Regions from separate parts of the Homo sapiens genome. Here regions 2, 3, 4, 5, 6 and 7 are each linked to region 1. The links are contacts of gene promoters, found by promoter capture Hi-C in blood cells and fetal thymus (Javierre and others, 2016). All regions are on one chromosome and are shown on one strand. The core of a region is centred on a gene start or on the middle of the fragment in contact, and the rest is flanking DNA. Distances in the headings are between cores, read along the strand shown.

Evidence for each region. Contacts are between HindIII fragments. The CHiCAGO score rates a contact against its expected background, and 5 or more counts as called.
Region 2: a fragment that was not itself captured here is called in contact with the fragment with the promoter of SAMD8 in region 1 in 1 of 17 cell types (fetal thymus); the score reaches 5.9 in fetal thymus.
Region 3: a fragment that was not itself captured here is called in contact with the fragment with the promoter of SAMD8 in region 1 in 17 of 17 cell types (total CD4 T cells, naive CD8 T cells, monocytes and 14 more); the score reaches 19.2 in total CD4 T cells.
Region 4: a contact is called between a fragment that was not itself captured here and the fragment with the promoter of SAMD8 in region 1, in 1 of 17 cell types (fetal thymus). The highest score is 6.6, in fetal thymus.
Region 5: a contact is called between the fragment with the promoter of AP3M1 here and the fragment with the promoter of SAMD8 in region 1, in 9 of 17 cell types (fetal thymus, naive CD4 T cells, total CD8 T cells and 6 more). The highest score is 11.4, in fetal thymus.
Region 6: a contact is called between a fragment that was not itself captured here and the fragment with the promoter of SAMD8 in region 1, in 5 of 17 cell types (naive CD8 T cells, total CD8 T cells, endothelial precursors and 2 more). The highest score is 7.6, in naive CD8 T cells.
Region 7: a fragment that was not itself captured here is called in contact with the fragment with the promoter of SAMD8 in region 1 in 1 of 17 cell types (monocytes); the score reaches 5.4 in monocytes.

The regions. Positions count from the first base shown.
Region 1 is chr10:75,110,404-75,113,103 of GRCh38, reverse strand. It overlaps SAMD8 (sterile alpha motif domain containing 8), which reads right to left and starts at 1,448. Exons shown (of 6, transcript NM_001174156.2): 1 at 1,382-1,448. RefSeq lists enhancers at 740-1,688, 1,689-2,638 and a silencer at 1,362-1,701. The HindIII fragment of the contact is 16,308 bases long and covers 1-2,700 here.
Region 2 is chr10:74,215,012-74,217,711 of GRCh38, reverse strand. The region is part of intron 2 of ADK (adenosine kinase); the gene reads right to left. Among named protein-coding and RNA genes, the nearest start is that of ADK, 65 kb to the right of the region's middle. The HindIII fragment of the contact is 4,150 bases long and covers 1-2,700 here.
Region 3 is chr10:74,257,875-74,260,574 of GRCh38, reverse strand. The region is part of intron 3 of ADK (adenosine kinase); the gene reads right to left. Among named protein-coding and RNA genes, the nearest start is that of ADK, 110 kb to the right of the region's middle. The HindIII fragment of the contact is 6,384 bases long and covers 1-2,700 here.
Region 4 is chr10:74,198,241-74,200,940 of GRCh38, reverse strand. It overlaps ADK (adenosine kinase), which reads right to left. Exons shown (of 11, transcript NM_006721.4): 2 at 103-177. Among named protein-coding and RNA genes, the nearest start is that of ADK, 48 kb to the right of the region's middle. The HindIII fragment of the contact is 5,555 bases long and covers 1-2,700 here.
Region 5 is chr10:74,149,437-74,152,136 of GRCh38, reverse strand. It overlaps AP3M1 (adaptor related protein complex 3 subunit mu 1), which reads left to right and starts at 1,309. Exons shown (of 9, transcript NM_012095.6): 1 at 1,309-1,382. ADK (adenosine kinase) reads right to left here and starts at 916. Exons shown (of 11, transcript NM_006721.4): 1 at 794-916. The coding sequence starts at 858. RefSeq lists enhancers at 566-745, 1,156-1,385. The HindIII fragment of the contact is 5,595 bases long and covers 1-1,620 here.
Region 6 is chr10:74,126,708-74,129,462 of GRCh38, reverse strand. It overlaps AP3M1 (adaptor related protein complex 3 subunit mu 1), which reads left to right. Exons shown (of 9, transcript NM_012095.6): 6 at 222-355. Among named protein-coding and RNA genes, the nearest start is that of AP3M1, 23 kb to the left of the region's middle. The HindIII fragment of the contact is 4,436 bases long and covers 1-2,755 here.
Region 7 is chr10:74,165,884-74,168,583 of GRCh38, reverse strand. All of the region lies in intron 1 of ADK (adenosine kinase), which reads right to left. Among named protein-coding and RNA genes, the nearest start is that of ADK, 16 kb to the right of the region's middle. RefSeq lists an enhancer at 869-988. The HindIII fragment of the contact is 1,058 bases long and covers 735-1,792 here.

The DNA of each region.
Region 1 (2,700 bases), core at 199-2,698:
CAAGCATCCTCTGTCCTTATTTTTCCAAATCACTCTACTAAAAATACTATTCACACAATACCTGCAAAATAGTATTTCAATATTGGTTTTGCCAATCAGTCAAAGGTACCTCTCCAATTTTCAAGAGATAAGTCCAATCCTGGGGTTATCAGTGAGAGGAAGATTTGGTATTGCGCCTAGACTGTGGCAAGTTCACTGTGCCCCCTTCACCCAGAAACTTGCATTGACCATACATTTACTATGTGGCAAATACATGTGTCAACTTAAAACTTTGAAAGTGGAACCAGTCCATGTTGAGTATCTGTAAAATCCAAGTGTCCAAATTCTTGTTTCAAGTTTAATTTTTAAAATCTGAGTATCCAAAGTCTTGTTTCAAGTTTTTAAAACTTAAAGGTAATATAGTAAATTTTTAGGATCTTAACATGTCTGGTATTTAAACTTAGCTACGAAAAAATTACAATGAAAAAAAGGACACCATTACTGTCAATAAATCCAAATGATATCTTCATTTTCAGAATCACGTCTTCCACTACCTTCTTCAAACATCACTTCCTCTCCACTACTTCCCCCAGTCCTTTAGGCAAATCAGTGATTCACACCGCCCCTTCCACCCAAGATTCTTAAAATGATCCACTGTGCACGAACGAGAAAGCCCCACGATCCAAGTACATTGCCCTAGTGATCTTTGATGTTTTAAAAGGCACCTGTAAAAATGCCAAAGCCCAAAATTAGATCCCCAAGGGCTCCTTTTCTTTCTTGACCACACTTCTCTTTTTCAGTGCCTCCCTCACCCCTTGAGGCCAGACGATTTCCCATCCAACAGCCCTCCTCCTTCTAGTCAAACCTAAATCCTGCCCTCCATCACCACCAGCCCCACCCGGGGTGGGAGGCGGATAAGAGGGCTCCGTAAGAGGAGAACCCCATGAGAGGGCTCCAGTCCCAGCCCCGATCGCCCTCCCTCGCCCTGGGAAGGGAACACCGGCCCAGGTCTTGCTCCTCTGACTCCTCATCCCCGCTGCCAAACCCAGAGCATCTCTTCTTCCGGGTCCACATTCCCGCAGGACCTTCGATCTTTTTCCCCCACTGCGCAGCTTTCAAAAGCCCCCAAGCTCTGGGCTCTTCAAGCCTCCCCCTCTCGCTCTCTCCCTCTCGTTCCTCGGCCTCCACTTATCCCTCAGCCTTCAGGCCCTCAGTTCGACAACCTCCATTTGCTTCAGATTCCATTCCAGAGCTGACTATCCCGGTTCCCTCAACCGTCTCCCCGGGGCCCCTCCAGGTCGCGGTCCCTCGGCAGCCCCCGGCTCCATCCCAGACTCCCCACTCACCCTTGGCAGCAGGCGCCCCCCAAGCTCCCCTCTCCTCAGCCTCAGCTCCCGCTCACCTCCGCGGTCCGAGTCGGGCTCCCCGGACCCACCTCCGAGTCGGCGTCCGAGCCGCCGTCGGAGTCCGGGGCCCTCCCCGCCTCGCCGGAGTGAAGCGCCTCAAGCGGCGGGGGCGGAGCCCGGGGCGGGGAGCCGGAGTGGAGGCGGGGGCGGTGGCGACTGCGCGCAGGCATCGTCCCGGCCGCCGTCACCGCCGCGCCGGCAGCTGCTCGGAGCCGAACCGGAACTGCTTCGGGAGGCGGGGCCCTACCGGCCGGGGACGGGGTTCTACCGGCAGGGGGCGGGGCCCACACTGGAAAAGACGCGAGGCTCCAGATGGGCCCGAGAGGAGAACCGAGATGCTGCCGCGGAGGAGCCCGAGGGCGCATGCGTCATGCCGGAGGCCAAAGCGACAGGAGGAAGCGGGGCTAGCGGAGCCGGGGCGGGGCCTGTGGGATCAGTAAATGGGGTTAGGGCCTAGAAGGAGGTAATCCGAATTCCTCTGGAGAGAGCCAGCTCTTCTCCAATAGCCAGCCCCCAATGATCATTGTTATAATTTATTGCCCATTTACTCTTTGACAGTGTCTATGCCAAACGCCATATAAACATCTCATTTAATCCTTGTGCTAAGGCCGGGAGCGGAGGCTCACGTCTGTAATCCCAGCACTTTGGGAGGCTGAGGCGGGATCACCTGAGGTCAGGAGTTCGAGACCAGCCTGGCCAGCATGGGGAAACCTCGTCTGTACTAAAAATACAAAAATTAGCCGGGCGTGGTGGTGCATACCTGTAATCCCAGCTACTCGGGAGGCTGAGGCAGGAGAATCGCTTGAACCCGGGAAATGGAGGTTGCAATGAGCCGAGATCACGCCATGGCACTCCAGCCTGGGCGACAAGAGCAAACTCCATCTCAAAAAAAAAATCCTAGTGCTAATTCTGCAAGGGGGATCCTATAGCACAGAAAAGTAAAGAAACATACTGCCTGACATATTGCAAACTGATATTCCAACCCAAATCTCTCTAACATCAGATCCTGTATTTTCCTCACTCCACCATGCTGCACCACCCTGAGGGAAGGTCTCCTCCCAAGCCAGGTCTAGCATTGGCATAAACCAAGTCCAAACCCAGCTGTAACCTGGACACGAGCCCCTCCTTGGTCTTGCCTCCCCACACAGTGCCGGGCCGACTTCAATGGTTCTGAATGGGATAGACATGAGTGTAGACTGCTTCCATGGGATGCCCTGGTGTGGCCTTTCCCTTCAAACTGGTCTTAAGGCCAAGGGCAGCTGGGAACCTCCCCACTGCAGCTCATACCCTTCCCAGCTCCATTAGGGCCACTGAG
Region 2 (2,700 bases), core at 194-2,693, 900 kb after region 1:
GAACCGCGAATGCTGCTGTCTGATCGTTCCTCTGGAAGTTTTGTCTCAGAGGAGTACCCGGCCATGTGAGTTGTCAGTCTGCTCCTACTGGGGGGTGCCTCCCAGTTAGGCTGCTCAGGGGTCAGGGGTCAGGGACCCACTTGAGGAGGCAGTCTGCCCGTTCTCAGATCTCCAGCTGCGTGCTGGGAGAACCACTGCTCTCTTCAAAGCTGTCAGACAGGGACATATAAGTCTGCAGAGGTTACTGCTGTCTTTTTGTTTGTCTGTGCCCTGCCCCCAGAGGTGCAACCTACAGAGGCAGGAAGGCCTCCTTGAGCTGTGGTGGGCTCCACCCAGTTGGAGCTTCCCGGCTGCTTTGTTTAGCTAAGCAAGCCTGGGCAATGGCGGGCGCCCCTCTCCCAGCCTCGCTGCCGCCTTGCAGTTTGATCTGAGACTGCTGTGCTAGCAATCAGCAAGACTCCGTGGGCGTAGGACCCTCCGAGCCAGGTGCAGGATATAATCTCCTGGTGTGCCGTTTTTTAAGCCCGTCGGAAAAGTGCAGTATTCGGGTGGGAATGACCCGATTTTCCAGGTGCCATCTGTCACCCCTTTCTTTGACTAGGAAAGGGAACTCCCTGACCCCTTGTGCTTCCCGAGTGAGGCAATGCCTCGCCCTGCTTCGGCTCATGCACGGTGCGCTGCACGCACTGACCTGCGCCCACTGTCTGGCACTCTCTAGTGAGATGAACCCAGTACCTCAGATGGAAATGCAGAAATCACCCGTCTTCTGCATCGCTCACGCTGGGAGCTGTAGACCGGAGCTGTTCCTATTCGGCCATCTGGGCTCCTCTCACTTTTTATTAATATAAAAAGGATGACATACTCCTCACCTATTGTGAATGAAACTATACACTATTCTATTGCCTGAGTATAAAAACCTTTTAAGTGTTAAACAAGGAATGATTCATATTTTGTCTGTGAAACTTTTTTTTTTTTATTTTTTTTTTTGAGACAGAGTTTCACTCTGTCACCCAGGCTGAAGTACAGTGGCATGATTGTGGCTCACCGCAACCTCTGCCTGCTGGGTTCAAGCAATTCTCGTGCCTCAGTCCCCAAAATAGCTGGGACTACAGGCATGCACCCCCACGCCCGGCTAATTTTCGTATTTTAAGTAGAAACGAAGTTTCACCACGTTGGCCAGGCTGGTCACCAACTCCTCACCTCAAGTGATCCGCCCACCTTGTCCTCCCAAAGTACTAGGATTACAGGTGCGAGCCACTGCACCTGGCCTATTTTCTTCTGTTTAATAATGTACCAACATTTTGAAGGCAGAGAAGCAACATTTTGAAGGCAGAGAAGGAGAAAAAAAATTTTTTTAATAAATAAAAAATAATTTAGCAACATTTTAATACATTTGTTATTTTACCGTGTGCTAATTACAATTTAATGACTAAGAGATATTTTAAAATTTACACATTTTGGCTGGCTGCAAAGACATATAATAGGGTAATCAATATGCATGAAAGACTGTAATGCATAAAAATATACTACCTTCATAATGTATGCATGTTACAGGCAAAATATAACTTATGCATAAAATACATCATATAAGAATAGAATCTGGTGTGAAAAGTATAACAGAAATGCAAATTCAAGACAGAAAGGACTATAAAATTTTTAAACATCAAAAAAGGAAGCTGTTTATGTATTTTTATAAATGAATAAAAGGGGTATCAAATCACAGTGGTATTTAGAGTCCACTAAAAAGAGTGATTTAGGCCAGGCGCGGTGGCTCACGCCTGTAATCCCAGCACTTTGGGAGGCCGAGACGGGCGGATCACAAGGTCAGGAGATCGAGACCATCCTGGTTAACATGGTGAAACCCCGTCTCTACTAAAAAAAATACAAAAAAATTAGCCAGGCATTGTAGTCCCAGCTGCTTGGGAGGCTGAGGCAGGAGAATGGGGTGAACCCAGGAGGCAGAGCTTGCAGTGAGCCGAGATCGAGCCACTGCACTCTAGCCTGGGTGACAGAGCAAGACTCTGTCTTAAAAAAAAAAAAAAAAAAGAGTGATTTATCAGTATTATATAAAGTTATTAAAAATCATTAGCTGGGCGCAGTGGCTCATGCTTATAATCCCAGCACTTTGGGAGGCCAAGGCAGGCAGATCACTTGAGGTCAGGAGTTTGAGACCAGCCTGGCCAACACAGCGAAACCCCATCAGCAAAACCCCATCTCTACTAAAAATACAAAAATTAGCCAGGCGTGGTGGCAGGCGCCTGTGGTCCCAGCTACTGGGGAGGCTGAGGCAGGAGAATCACTTGAACCTGGGAGATGGAGGTTGTAAGTGAGCCAAGATTGTGCCACTGCACTCCAACCTAGGCGACAGAGCCTACTTTCAACTTAGTAGAAAGCTATAACCCAACTTCCCACCATGGCTTTCATAGAATGATGCAAAGCACAGCCTATATTTTGGATGTTTTGTTTTCTAATGGCATAGATAGGTATTCTTTTATAATCAATTCTTACCATGAACATAGTTCCTAAAAATCAGAGACAACAAAATGGTACAGTGGTAGTCCTCAACATTTTTTTCTGCCCTAAATTACTGGAGAAAAATGACATACACTCCAAAGAATAGAAGACGGGGAAGCAAGAGGGAGCACAGGGAAGGGGCCTCTTTATTCTGCCTCTAGCCCCTACAAAGAGAACAACTGAGTG
Region 3 (2,700 bases), core at 43-2,542, 850 kb after region 1:
AAGCATTGAGAAATAATTTCTAAGGCTGGGCACAGTGGCTCACGCCTATAATCACAGGCCAAGGCAGGAGGATCACTTGAGGCCAGGCATTCAAGGGACAACACAGCAAAACCCTGTTTCTACAAAAAAATTAAAAAATTAGCTGGGTGGAGTGGTGCATGCCTGTAGTCCCAGCTGCACAGGAAGCTGAGGCAGGAGGATGGCTTGAGCCCAGGAGTTCAAGGCTTCAGTGAGCTGTGATCACACCAATGTACTCCAACCTGGTGAGAGGGCAAGAACTTGTCTCTAATTTAAAAAGCAAAACAAACAAACAAACAAAAGAATCTATAATTCTACTACAGGTTGAGACAACCACAATAAGCACTGAAAACAGAATCAGTTACAAGTGGCTGATTTTGGGGGGAGTGGGAACAGAGAAACATAGGGCAAGATTTTTCTTGTTTTTCATTATTAGACAGACCATCTGTTCTATTTGATTGTTAACCATGTACACATATTACCTTTGAAGGTTTTTTTTTTTAAATGGCCAAAGCTATAATGGGTCAGAGTCCTAGGGGTTCCCTGAAACTTGTTACTAAAACTCTCTCAAAAGGGTAAAATGCACTTAACATACATAGTCTTCAAAACTTAGAATATCCCTATCTAGAACATTCTTATAAAGGAATACAAGACGAGTGAGCAAAGAATTACTAATTTATTGGAAAGAAAGCTGAGCAGGACAAGAAGTGTTTCCAATAATATGAACATGTATAGAAAGAATGAGTAATGAAATTCAATCTGAGTCATTTAATTCAATGAGCAGATAATTGAGAAAAATGGGCCGGGCAGGGTGGCTCACGCCTGTAATCCTAGCACTTTGGGAGGCGAAGGCAGACGGATCACGAGGTCAGGAGATCGAGACCATCCTGGCTAACATGGTGAAACCCCGTCTCTACTAAAAATACAAAAAAAATAGCCAGGCATGGTGGCGGGTGCCTGTAGTCCCAGCTACTTGGGAGGCTGAGGCAGGAGAATGGCATGAACCCAGGAGGTGGAGCTTGCGGTGAGCCGAGATCGCGCCACTGCACTCCAGCCTGGGTGACAGAGCAAGACTCCGTCTCAAAAAAAAAAAAAAAAAAGGAAAAGAAAAATGATTACATCGAGTTTATAACACATCCCCAAGAATTCTAAGGCAAATTTGTCACCACCTCAATCACAGAAAACAAAGATCATTTTGCTAAAGATTTTTGAGTTAATTATATCTAATCATCTTATTTAACATAATTCTGAAAAAAATACATTTGTGCACATGCTTACATGTTCAAAACAAACTACTAGTAAATATTCTATATGCCAGGCACAGTGGCTCACACCTGTAATCCCAACACTTTGGGAGGCTGAGGCAGGCAGATCACTTGAGGCCAGGAGTTCGAAATCAGCCTGGCCAACATGGCGAAACCTCTTCTCTACTAAAAATACAAAAATTAGCTAGGCCACATGCCTGTAATCCCAGCTACTTGGGAGGCTAAGGCACGAGAATCGCTTGAACCCAGGATGGAGAGGTTGCAATGAGCCGAGATCATGCCACTGCACTCCAGCCTGGGCGACACAGGGAGACTCCGTCTCAAAAAAAAAAAAAAAAAAAAAACACAAAAACAAACAACAACAACAAAAAAGATATTCACTCAAGGAATTCTTATATTATGTATACGTTAAACAATCATGTTACAGAAAACAACCCATTTAGTAACATGAATAACAATTTAAAGAAAAAGGTAGAGCACAAAACTATTATGCTATTAACATCTAAAGATATTATATAATCACAGCTTCAGCCCATGGCACTCAACAGTAAACATAACAGCTACATTCCTTCATTTTTAGCAAAGAATCTTTGATTTTTATCAGAATTGATATGTGAATTACTAGATTATGACCCTTCATTTTTTTCCCAGCTAAATAAAATGCTTCAATTTTGATTACTTCTAAATCTGTTGTATTAAGTCTAAAACTGATTAATGATGTACCGTATCCTGCTAAGTAGAATTAAATTAGTGTATAATTGATTAGTGTATAATTGAAGCAGTTGTAGATTTACCAACTTTAATTAAGGTGGCTTATTACAGATAATTTATACTATAAGAGAGAAAATAGAAGCAACAAGTTCATCAAAACTTTAAATTAAGATCAAAGATACAATATTAAAGATTAGAAAAAAGGCTATAGGCTAATACTGAGTACTTTGAAAGTAAATCATCTTAGTACAAATCCTTTTAGAGGAGAAAACCAATTATTAATATTGACCTTTTAGGCTAGATTTTCCAAGAAATTACACTATTAGTGGTCATTTACTATAGTAAGTGATGCCAACTTATGTAAGCAAATAAAAGAATACATCTAATAATATTTTGTCTACTTACAACACTAAACTACACTAAAAAAATACTTAAATATTTCTCATAACTCCTTTAAAAAGGTATTCAAGCAAGAGGAAAAGCTCATAATTCTCACTATAAAAATAAATAAAAACTAATTTATTAAGAAGGAAGCAAGTGAGGAAAAAGAACATTTCTGAAACAAAACACAGAAGTAGTGTCTGCAGTTCTCTCAATACCCTTGTGGGTGGTAACTACAGCCCAGAAACTTTTACACATAAATTGCTAACTCCCCTGAGTTTAAAGCCATGGTAATTAGGCTCATTATCTTACATGTTAATGACAC
Region 4 (2,700 bases), core at 36-2,535, 910 kb after region 1:
TTTAATTGAAGACATTCGGTGGTAAATTCACTTCTAAAGTTTTCATCCATTCTTCTTCAAATGTAAGTTCCACATAGTGCATATGAAGAGTTTAATACTTACTTATCAAGGAAATCTTTGTCCACTACAGCAGAGATGTCAAGCAGAGGATTTCCCATTCCAAAGAGAATATTTTCTCTAAAAAAACACAAAACACAAGTTAGAAATACTTCTAAAAGTAAGTTGATATGTAAAAGGTACACAAAATAAAAATAACTATCTTCATTTCAACCTGAAAATAAACCTAACACACCAGTTTATTAAACATTTGATTTGCCTATTATACGTAGAACATTTTAGAGGTAGCATAAAGACATTTAGAAAAAAAGATGATTATCAGAGAAAGATGCAAATCAAAACTACAATGAGACACCATCTCACACCAATGAGAATACCTATTTTTTTTTTTTTTTTTTGGACACGGAGTTTCGCTCTTGTCGCCCAGGCCGGAGTGCAATGGTGCAATCTCAGCTCACTGCAACCTCCACCTCCCAGGTTCAAGTGATTCTCCTGCCTCAGCCTCCTGAGTAGCTGGGATTAAAGGTGCCTGCCACCATGCCTGGCTAATTTTTGTATTTTTAGTAGAGATGGGGTTTCACCATGTTGGCCAGGCTGGTCTCGAACTCCTGACCTCAGCACATCCACCTGCCTTAGCCTCCCAAAATGCTGGGATTACAGGTGTGAGCCACTGTGCCCAGCCCAGAATAACTATTACTAAAGAGTCAAAAAAAAAAAAAAAAAAAAACAGATGGTGTCAAGGTTGCAGAGAAAAGGTAATACTTATAAACTGCTGATGGGAATGCAAATTAGGTTAGCCCCTGTGAAAAGAAGTTTAAAGATCTCTCAAAAAACTTAAAATATAATTACCATCCGACCCAGCAATCTCATTATGGGTATATACCCAAAGAAAAATGAATCATTCTAGGCTGGGCACGGTGGTTCACACCTGTAATCCCAGCACTTTGGGAGGCCGAGGTGGGTGGATCATGAGGTCAGCAGATCAAGACCATCCTGACCAACAAGGTGAAACCCCATCTGTATAAAAAATACAAAAATTAGCCAGGTGTAGTGGCGAGCACCTGTAGTCCCAGCTACTCAGGAGGCTGATGCAGGAGAATCACTTGAACCCAGGAGGTGGAGGTTGCAGTGAGTCGAGATCGTGCCACTGCGCTCCAGCCTGGGCGACAGAGCGAGACTCTGCCTAAAAAATAAAAAAAATGAAAAAAAATGAATCATTCTACCAAAAAGGGATATGTTTATTACAGCACTCTTCACAATAGCAAAGACATGGAATCAACTTAGGTGCCCATCAATGGTAGAATGGATAAAGAAAATTCAATACATATACACCATGGAATACTATGCAGCCATAAAAAAAGAACGAAATCATGTCCTTTACAGCAATATGGATGCAGCTGAATTATCCTAAGTGAATTAACATAGAAACAGAAAGCCAAATATCACATGTTTTCACTTATAAGTGGAAGCTAAACACTGGGTACGCAGAGACACAAAGATGTCGGGACAAAAGACACTGGAGATTCCAAAATCAGGGAGGGAGACAGGAAAGCAAGGGCTCAAAAACTACCTATTGGTTACTATGTTCACTACTTAGACGATGGGGATCATTACAAAACCAAACTTCAGTATCATATGATATACCCATGTAACAAACCTGCACATGCACTCCCCTGAATGTTATTAGGGAGCCCGTGGCACATCCTGGAAGAGTACAAGCAAGAGCCCTATCTACCCTTCACAAAAAAATGACTGTGGTAGGGTCTTCACAATGGATATCAGAAGTGATATAATTCTCTTATTATGTATCCAAAAAATTTAAATATATGCTAACTTTTTATAGAACGATTTGTAACTTTTACAAATTTAAATGCACATCTTTTCATCTAAAAATGTCTAGCTAAAACTTTTATTCATGTCTTATGTTTCCTATACTTCTTATATTCATGTCTTCTCATACATATACTTGTATGTTATATATATAAGGATTCATTTCAGATGCCTATAACATGAAATAAAGCAAAACAAAAACAAACAAATCAACAAGAAACGATATAATTTTAAATTATATTTAACAGACTTGGAGGAAGTCTGTTTTCCATAAGAGATCACAGTATGGTTCCAATCCAAATAAAAGAAAGAACTCCACCACAAGTGATGCCTTAAACAGAAGCTCATCTAGCAGCAAGAAATGGGCCAGTGAATACTGTTGGATCAGTCTCAATAAGAGACATTCATCTAGTTTATCCAAAAAGATTTGTTTCTGTGTAATTTTTTATTGGTCTCCAGTTTACTGATGATTCCCCCTCCCTTTCAGTTGCCTCCAAACCAGTTACCATTCTCACCATTTGGCAACTATCAGTAATATCAATGGACTAACATGCCAATATTTCTTTAAGAGAATGAGGTACAGCCTATAATTATAATCTGTAATGATTTTTAGAAGATAAAATTACAGTCTCTTATTAACACCATAGATTGAGCAACTATGGCTGAATATGCAATAAAGAGATATTTGTCCCTTTTCTATTTAAAGAAAGCTGAGTGGAGGAGGGAAAGATAATACACTTACTTATTCACACTTAAATTGCATATGTGATCAAAGCAAGTCTAATAAAAAAGTATTTTAAGTGCTTAGAAGGT
Region 5 (2,700 bases), core at 60-2,559, 960 kb after region 1:
TCAGTTTGATATGTCTATTTTAAGATGGAAAAAAAAATCGCTGCCTTTCAGCGAACATTTCCAAATCATCAAAGACTGCCTGCTTCACTTTATACTTATTAGGAAGGGATATTTTAACAAATGACTCTTCATAAGTAAAAGTTGCAACATCAATCACATGTGAGGCAGGTGTTAGGGGCAGCACTGTCCCCGTTGCTGCCAAAAAGTGTAAATAAAAAAGAGAAATCAACCTTTCCTATCCATTCATCCAAATGCTGCCCCTGCAAAGCATCGGAGGGGTCTGGGTCCCTGGTAGAGGGTCCTCAAAGGTACGGGCTTTCAGAATGTGCACGAAAAGGAAGGTCAACGTGCCCTTCCGCAACACTCTGAAAAATCCCCAAGAATTCTGACTTTGCCCCAGTGTACAGCAGTTGCCGAGCCTCTTTCCCGCCATCCCCCGGGAAGAGAAGGCGGCCGCCTACAGACGCTGCTCCGGTCCGACCCTCCGGGGTCGCACCAGCCCAGCCTGGGCTTGCTCGCAGGTGGCGCGGTCAGCCAGCTCGGTCCCCCTGCGGGCCACGACTGGCGAAGGGCTGCTGGAGCCGGAGCTGCACCAGACAGGCGGGGACTCAGCCAAACGGAGAGAACGTCTGGCAAGGGGTCGCGGCCAAGCGGGCAGCTGGGGGAGGTCCTGCGTGTTGGCCCCAAGCTGGCAGTGAGAGACACCACCCAGCGTCGGGGCCGTGCAACCCCACGTGGGCCCTGGCTTGCTTGCAGCGCCGTCACCCTCCTCCCCAAGTCCGGCAGCGCTCACCTCAGCGCTTGCGGCGCCTCCACCTTCAGCTTTTTGGGCTTCGGCTCCTCCTCAGCAGCTGCCATCTTCGCGCTCCCACCCCACTTTGGCTCTACAGCCCACCTCTGCCATCCACTCTCTGGTCCCGCCCCCTCTTCGCATCACCGCTTTCTCTTCTCCAAATCCCGCCCCTCCAGACTCCGCCCATTCTGTGCCGCTGTCATCCACAATCATTGGCTCTATCCGTCGGCACCAACAGCGAATGCCCCGCCCATTCCTGACCCCGCCTCCCCTACCATGAGGGACCCCAGACTGCGTTAGGCAGCAGATGACCGCCTGAATCTAGATGGAGAGAAACCCACCATTTTTCTAGGCCCTGGATTATGTAGAAGATTTAGATACTAAGCCTCAAGAGACGTCTTTCCTCTCATTTACGGTCTTCCTGCATATTTAAAATTTCTAATACGGTAGACAGAGTCGGTGTCTTTGAAGCTGTTAATCAGGCAATTTCCTGGGCACTCCAGCTGCGGGTCCTCGCGGCCTTCTCGGCTTCTCCAGCTTCGGTAGGAGAGGATCCGGCGCCGAATCACTGACTGGCACAGGTGTTGGGGTGAGTGTGAGGGGCGGGAAATCTGTGGACTGGGGACAGCTCCAAAACCCGGGAGTAGGCTGAATAGCTGGGGCCCCCGACTCCGATCTGGGCTCTAGGAGCGTCTTTGGTGCTGTTGGCCCGGGCCTCGCTTCCCCCCCACTCCCGGCCTTCCGGGCTTTCTCGCCAGCAAGGCCAGAAGGGAGCGGTCCACCTGCAGCCCAGTGTTCTCAGGCGCCTGAGCCCCGGAGGTCAAGCTTACTGGGTTCCCCCTCTATAGTGAGCTGGAGTACAGACGGCAGGAATCTCAGTCCCAGGTTTCTGCTTTGGAGGACAAAACCCCAAACGGACCTGAGCAGACGTCCTGTTAGCGGGTGGTGCCTGGAAGAGCCTGGGGTGAGGAATGCAGTGAGAAGGGTGTTGCAGTTCTTCAGGAGAGAGGTAACGGGGTTCTAAGCTGAGCAGGTGGCAGTGAGTGTGGAAGAGTGACGGGCGATGTGGCTGTTTGTATTTGGTAGATTTGTTTGAACCTGAAACTTACAGCCTTATGTGTGATTAAGAAGATGGTGCCAGTGACAGGAGGAGGTATTTTATGGAGTTTGAGTTTTATCGAATTTGAAACAGTGGTTTACATGGAGATTGTAGAAAGACTTTAAAAAAAATTATGAGAATTAAGCCCGAAAGACTTTCAAGGTGAGACCCAAAACAGATGAAGTTTCATATAAAAGGGTAAGAAGTATTTTTGTTTAGGAGAAAGTTATCAATGACATAAAATGCTGCAATGGTCAGAGGAGGAAGCTGAAATCAGAATAGGTCGTTGGATTTTATAATTAGAAAGTCATTGAGCTGTTTGAGAGAGATGCTTTAATAGTAACTGAGGAAAGACTGCAAGTGTAGACCAATCCTTCATCATTTGGGGCATGAAGCAAGATTATTGAGAGTGGCAAGGTGGGGGAAAGTTTGGGGTTTGTTTTAAAGAATACAAGATATCTATTTGGGGGCAGGAAGCAAGCAACTATTTGAAGATTCAAGAAAAAGTCTTGTCTCCCAGAAGAGAAGGAAAGGAATGGGATCAAGTTACAAGTGAAAGGATTAATTTGGGAAAGACAGAGGGACACTTTCAATTGACACTATAGGAGAAGTGAAGTGAATGAGGTTAATGAAGAATTATCTTAATTTACGAATCTTGGCCAGGCGCGGTGGCTCACGCCTGTAATCTCAGCACTTTGGCAGGCTGAAGCGGGCGGATCACAAAGTCAGGAGTTCGAGACCAACCTGGCCAACATAGTGAAACCCTGTCTCTACTAAAAATACAAAAATTAGCCAGGTGTGGTGGCAC
Region 6 (2,755 bases), core at 142-2,641, 980 kb after region 1:
ACTTGCCTTTTCTCCTTTATAGTTATTGAAATTCAAATAAAATAATGTACATAAAATATTTACAAACTTTAAAGCATTATGAAACTATAAGGTTGTGTAGATGTGGTCATAAACTCTTCCATGACTGCTTTATCTTCAGGGAACATATTTGTCAAGGTATCTGAGTACAGTTCCCATATTCATTATAGTCTATGAACGACTGTCTTCTGTTTTTCTGGCAGAACCCTAGGCTTCTGGATGATGTCAGCTTTCACCCCTGCATCCGGTTCAAGCGTTGGGAATCTGAAAGAGTTTTGTCATTTATTCCTCCAGATGGAAATTTCCGACTCATATCATACCGTGTCAGCTCACAAAAGTATGTTGATGCATCAGCCAGAATCTGCCATCATACATATCAAGTACAACTCACCTTTCCCTGTTTCTTTCTGAAAGTTGAGTACTTGAGGTCATCACTGCTCACTTTAACCATAGCTCACCAGGAGACCCAGTGAGAACGGGTGAAAATACGCACCTAAAATAATCCGTATACTTTGAATGTATGAGTGTAGAGTGGTACTAAGTGAGACTAGAGTAAAATCTATAGCCAAGAACAAGCAAACCATACATAACCTGGGCAAAAATTGTGGTACCGGTCCTTTGCAAGGTTATGCATGGTCAAATTATGGCACTGGTTCTTTGCTCAGGTTATGCATGGTCCATTTTGCTCTGCTTCTGAAAGCTGAGTACTTTGCAAGCAGAGCAAAACGGACCATGCATAACCTGGGCAAAACCATGAACCATTGCCATAATCTTACCATAGTCTGTAGAGTTTGTGGCCAACAAGGAGACAGACCTACCTGTAGTTCGTGAGGACATTCCCCAATTTACCTGCTTCAAGTACGTCTTCTCTGCGTTGAGTTTTTAAGGAACTGTTTAGCATTGAGGGGCCGGGTGCAGTGGTTCACTCCTGTAATCCCAACACTTTGGGAGGCCAATGTGGGCAGATCACTTGGGGTCAAGAGTTCTAGACCAGTCTGGTCAACATGGTGAAACCCTGTCTCTACTAAAAACACAAAATTAGCCAGGCGTGGTAGCGTGTGCCTATATAATCTCAACTACTTAGGAGGCTGAGGCATGAGAATCACTTGAACCTGGAAGGCAGAGGTTGCAGTGACAGATCACACCACTGCACTACAGCCTGGCCAACAGGGTAAAACTCCATCTCAAAAAAAAAAAAAATTTAGCATTGGGGATCGGAGTTATAGGTAGTTTGTTTCTTGAAAATACCAAAAGTTATTTGAGTAACATCATGACAGAACTCAAAAACAGAGAAATTATTTCTCGGCTCTTTTCTTTTCCTTTTTTTTTTTTTTTTTTTTTTTTAAGCCGGAGTTTGGCTCTTGTTGCTCAGGCTGGAGTGCAATGGTGAAATCTCGGCTTACTGCAACCTCCACCTCCAGGGTTCAAGTGATTCTCCTGCCTCGGCCTCCCAAGTAGCTGGGATTACAGGCATGCACCACCACACCCGGCTAATTTTGTGTTTTTAGTAGAGGCGGGGTTATTCCATGTTGGTCAGACTGGTCTCGAACTCCAGACCTCAGGTGATCTGCCCACCTCAGCCTCCCAAAGTGCTGGGATTACAGGCGTGAGCCACCGTGCCTGGCCTGTTTCTTGGCTCTTATCACATAGGAACTGTTTTCATTTATATAAAACATATTTTACATTATTTTTCAGTGGGATCATAATTCATTTTAAACTAGGGCCATTTGCCCCAATTGTTTTTGTTTGTTTGTTTTATGTTATTTTGTTTTGTTTGTTTGTTTTGAGACGGAGTTTCACTATTGTCACCCAGGCTGGAGTGCAATGGTGTGATCTTGGCTCACTGCAACCTCTACCTCCTGGGTTCAAGCGATTCTCCTGCCTCAGCCTCCCAAGTAGCTGGGATTACAGGCACCTGCCACCGCGCCCAGCTAATTTTTGTTTTTTGTTATTTTTTTTTTTTATTAGAGAGGGGATTTCACCATGTTGGCCAGGCTGGTCTCAAACTCCTGACCTCCAGTGATCTGCCTGCCTTGGCCTCCCAAAGTGCTGGGATTACAGGTGTGAGCCACTGCACCCAGCCACCCCAATTGTTTATACTGTTATTAAACTTCAGATTTCTGTCTTGATTTGTATACAGTTCCCAGCACAGTGGTACAAGAACATTATGCTGTACTCAGCTCCCCCTTGTGTAGATACTGAATCTGCAGTTCTAGAGGTACTGCCATCTTGGTATCCTTGGAGGACTGGTTGCAAAAATCAGCAGATGCTCGAGTCCCTTACATAAAATGGTGTAGTATTTGCATATAACCTATGCACATCCTCCTGTATACTTTAAATCATCTCCAAGTTACTTGTGATAGTACACTGTAAACACTGTGTAAATAATTGTTATACCATGTTGACTTTTTATTTTTATTGTAGTTATATTGTTATTTTTTACTTTTTTTTTTTTTTTTTTTTTTTTTTTTTTTGAGATGGCGTCTCGCTCCTTTGCCCAGGCTGGAGTGCAGTGGCACGATCTCAGCTCACTGCAATCTCCGCTTCCCAGGTTCAAGCGATTCTCCTGCCTCAGGCTTCCAAATAGCTGGGACTACAGGCATGAGCCACCACACCCAGCTAATTTTTGTATTTTTAGTAGAGACGAGGTTTCACCATGTTGGCCAGGCTGGTCTTGAACTCCTCACCTCAGCCTCCCAAAGTACTGAGATTACAGGTGTGAGCCACCGCGCCCAGC
Region 7 (2,700 bases), core at 14-2,513, 940 kb after region 1:
TGATACTTCACAATCTTTTTTTTCTTTCTTTCTTTTTTTTTTTTTTTGAGACAGTCTCGCTCTGTCGCCCAGGCTGGAGTGCAGTGGCGCGATCTCGGCTCACTGCAAGCTCCGCCTCCCGGGTTCATGCCATTCTCCTGCCTCAGGCTCCCAAGTAGCTGGAACTACAGCGCATGCCACCATGCCCCGCTAATTTTTTAGTATTTTTAGTAGAGATGGGGTTTCACTGTGTTAGACAGGATGGTCTCGATCTCCTGACCTCATGATCTGCCCGCCTCGGCCTCCCAAAGTGCTGGGATTACAGGCGTAAGCCACCGCGCCCAGCTCACAATCTTTTAAATTGTTCATTCATTAACTCAACAAATATTTATCGAGCATCTGTTCTACTACAGGAGACACTACAGATTTGGCAAAGATCAAGAACATGTGCTGCCCTTTTAGAACTTACATTCTAAGGAGAGAAAGATGAATAATCAAGTAACAAAAAAGAACAGCATCAAATGATCATAAGTGCTATTCAAAGAATTAAAACCAGCAGATCAATGTAGAGAAAGAAATTTTAAACTTTAAATCATTTCTTCAAAAGCATAAAACCCTCAGTATTCCATGGAAAAATAATATACATACTCAAATTGAACTATGAAAATTTACCAAAAGCAGACAAATTTCCCAATGGAGGAAAAAACACTTTAAAAGTGATCATCCTTCAAAGGGCAATAACAGAATTAAAAGCTTGGATATATAATTCAGTCATGTTTTTCTAAATTATTTTACATAATTGTGGCAGACTTAAAATGGGAACAATATCTTAGAGACAAGAAGTCTATGTTCCCTTCTCTTAAATCTGGGCTAGCCTGGAACTCCTCTGACCAATAGTGTATAGTGAAGGTGATGCTATGCCAGATTCTAAGCTAGCCTTTGAGAGGGCTGCCAGCTCCTGCTTTGGTCTCTTGGAGCTGCCACGTGAGAAGTCCAACTACCCAGCTGAAGAAACCACAGAGAGGATCTCAAACTACACTAAGAGAAGCCCAGTTGAGCCAAGCCTCCAGTTACCCTAAGGCATAAGGTGAGTGAATAAAGATAAGATGGACCCTCCAGACCAGACCTGTTGTCAGCTAAACACCTCCAAGTGATCTTATTCACCATATAGAACAGAATCAACAGGCCAAGCTGTGTCTGAATTCCTAATCCAAAAATCATGACATCTAATAAAGTAGTTATTTTAAGCCACCAAATTTTGGAATAGAAAACCAAACTGTGTGAAAAATACATTTTTTGGCCAGACACAGTGGCTCACGCCTGTAATCCTAACATTTTGGGAGGCTGAGGCGGGAGGATCACTTGAGCTTAGGAGTTCAAGACCAGCCTGGGCAACATAGTGAGACCTCATCTCTATTATATTTTTCTACATTTATATTTTTTTAATTAAAAATACATTTTTTACATTGTAACCCAGTACCCTATACATATAACTGAAACAATGATTCACAGAGCAATACTTACCTCTTAGGTACTCAATGCACAATATTTTTTATTCTATTTCTCGTTTATAAAATACCACTTGTGCAATACTCAAAAAGGCTCATGTAGTCTGGAAAACATTTTAGTCTATACAACTCACTTAACAGGTGCATTCACAAATCCAGACAGAGACCTTAATAGGACTCAGGTGTCCTTATCCCTAATCCAAAGCTCTTTTCCTTGCACCATGCTAAAAGCCAATAGGTATTACAGTTTGTAACCAGAAGTTCCTCACAAGCTCATATAAACACCTCAGAACTGAGTGAAAGCTTAAAAAGCTTCATGGAAGTCATGTAGCAATCAGAAATAGCTAAGAGGAACTGAGACTTTTCCTATTTTAACCATTTCTTTTTTTTTTTTCTTTTTTTTTTTTTTTGAGACGGAGTCTCACTTTGTCACCCAGGCTGGAGTGCAGTGGCGCAATCTTGGCTTATTGCAACTTCCACCTTCCAAGTTCAAGCGATTCTCCTACCTCAGCCTCCTGAGTAGCCAACGTGGGCAGAACACTTGAGGCCAGGAGTTTCAGACCAGCCTGGGTGACATGGCAAAACCTCATCTCTACAAAAAATACCAAAATTAGTTGGGCGTGGTGGCACAAGCCTGTGGTCCCAGCTACTTGGGAGGCTGCGGTGGGAGGATGGCTTGAGCCCGGAGGTGAATGTTACAGTGAGCTAAGATTGTTCAACTGCACTACAGCCTCTGCAACCAAGTAAGACCCCATCTCAAAAAATAGTACTAATAAATTGTTCTTAACTAGAACATTTTAATTAAACACAAGCAAAATTGGTTTGTCTAAAGTTTTGATTAGAAAATACAATCTACTGGCCGGGCATGGTGGCTCACGCCTGTAATCCCAGCAATTTGGGAGGCCGAGGCGGGCAGATCACCTAAGGTTGGAACTTCAAGACCAGCCAGGCCAACACAGTGAAACCCCGTCTCTACTAAAAATACAAAAATTCACTGGGTGTGGTGGCGCATGCCCTTAATCCTAGCTACTTGGGAGGCTGAGTCAGGAGAATCACTTGAACCCAGGAAGTGGAAGTGTACCCAGGAGGCCACTGCACTCCAGCCTGGGCAACAGAGCAACTCTGTCTCAAAGAAACATGAGAAAAAAGAAAATATAATCTACTAAAAATTCCAGTTCAATGAGTTAATCCATTTGCAAACCATACCACTAAG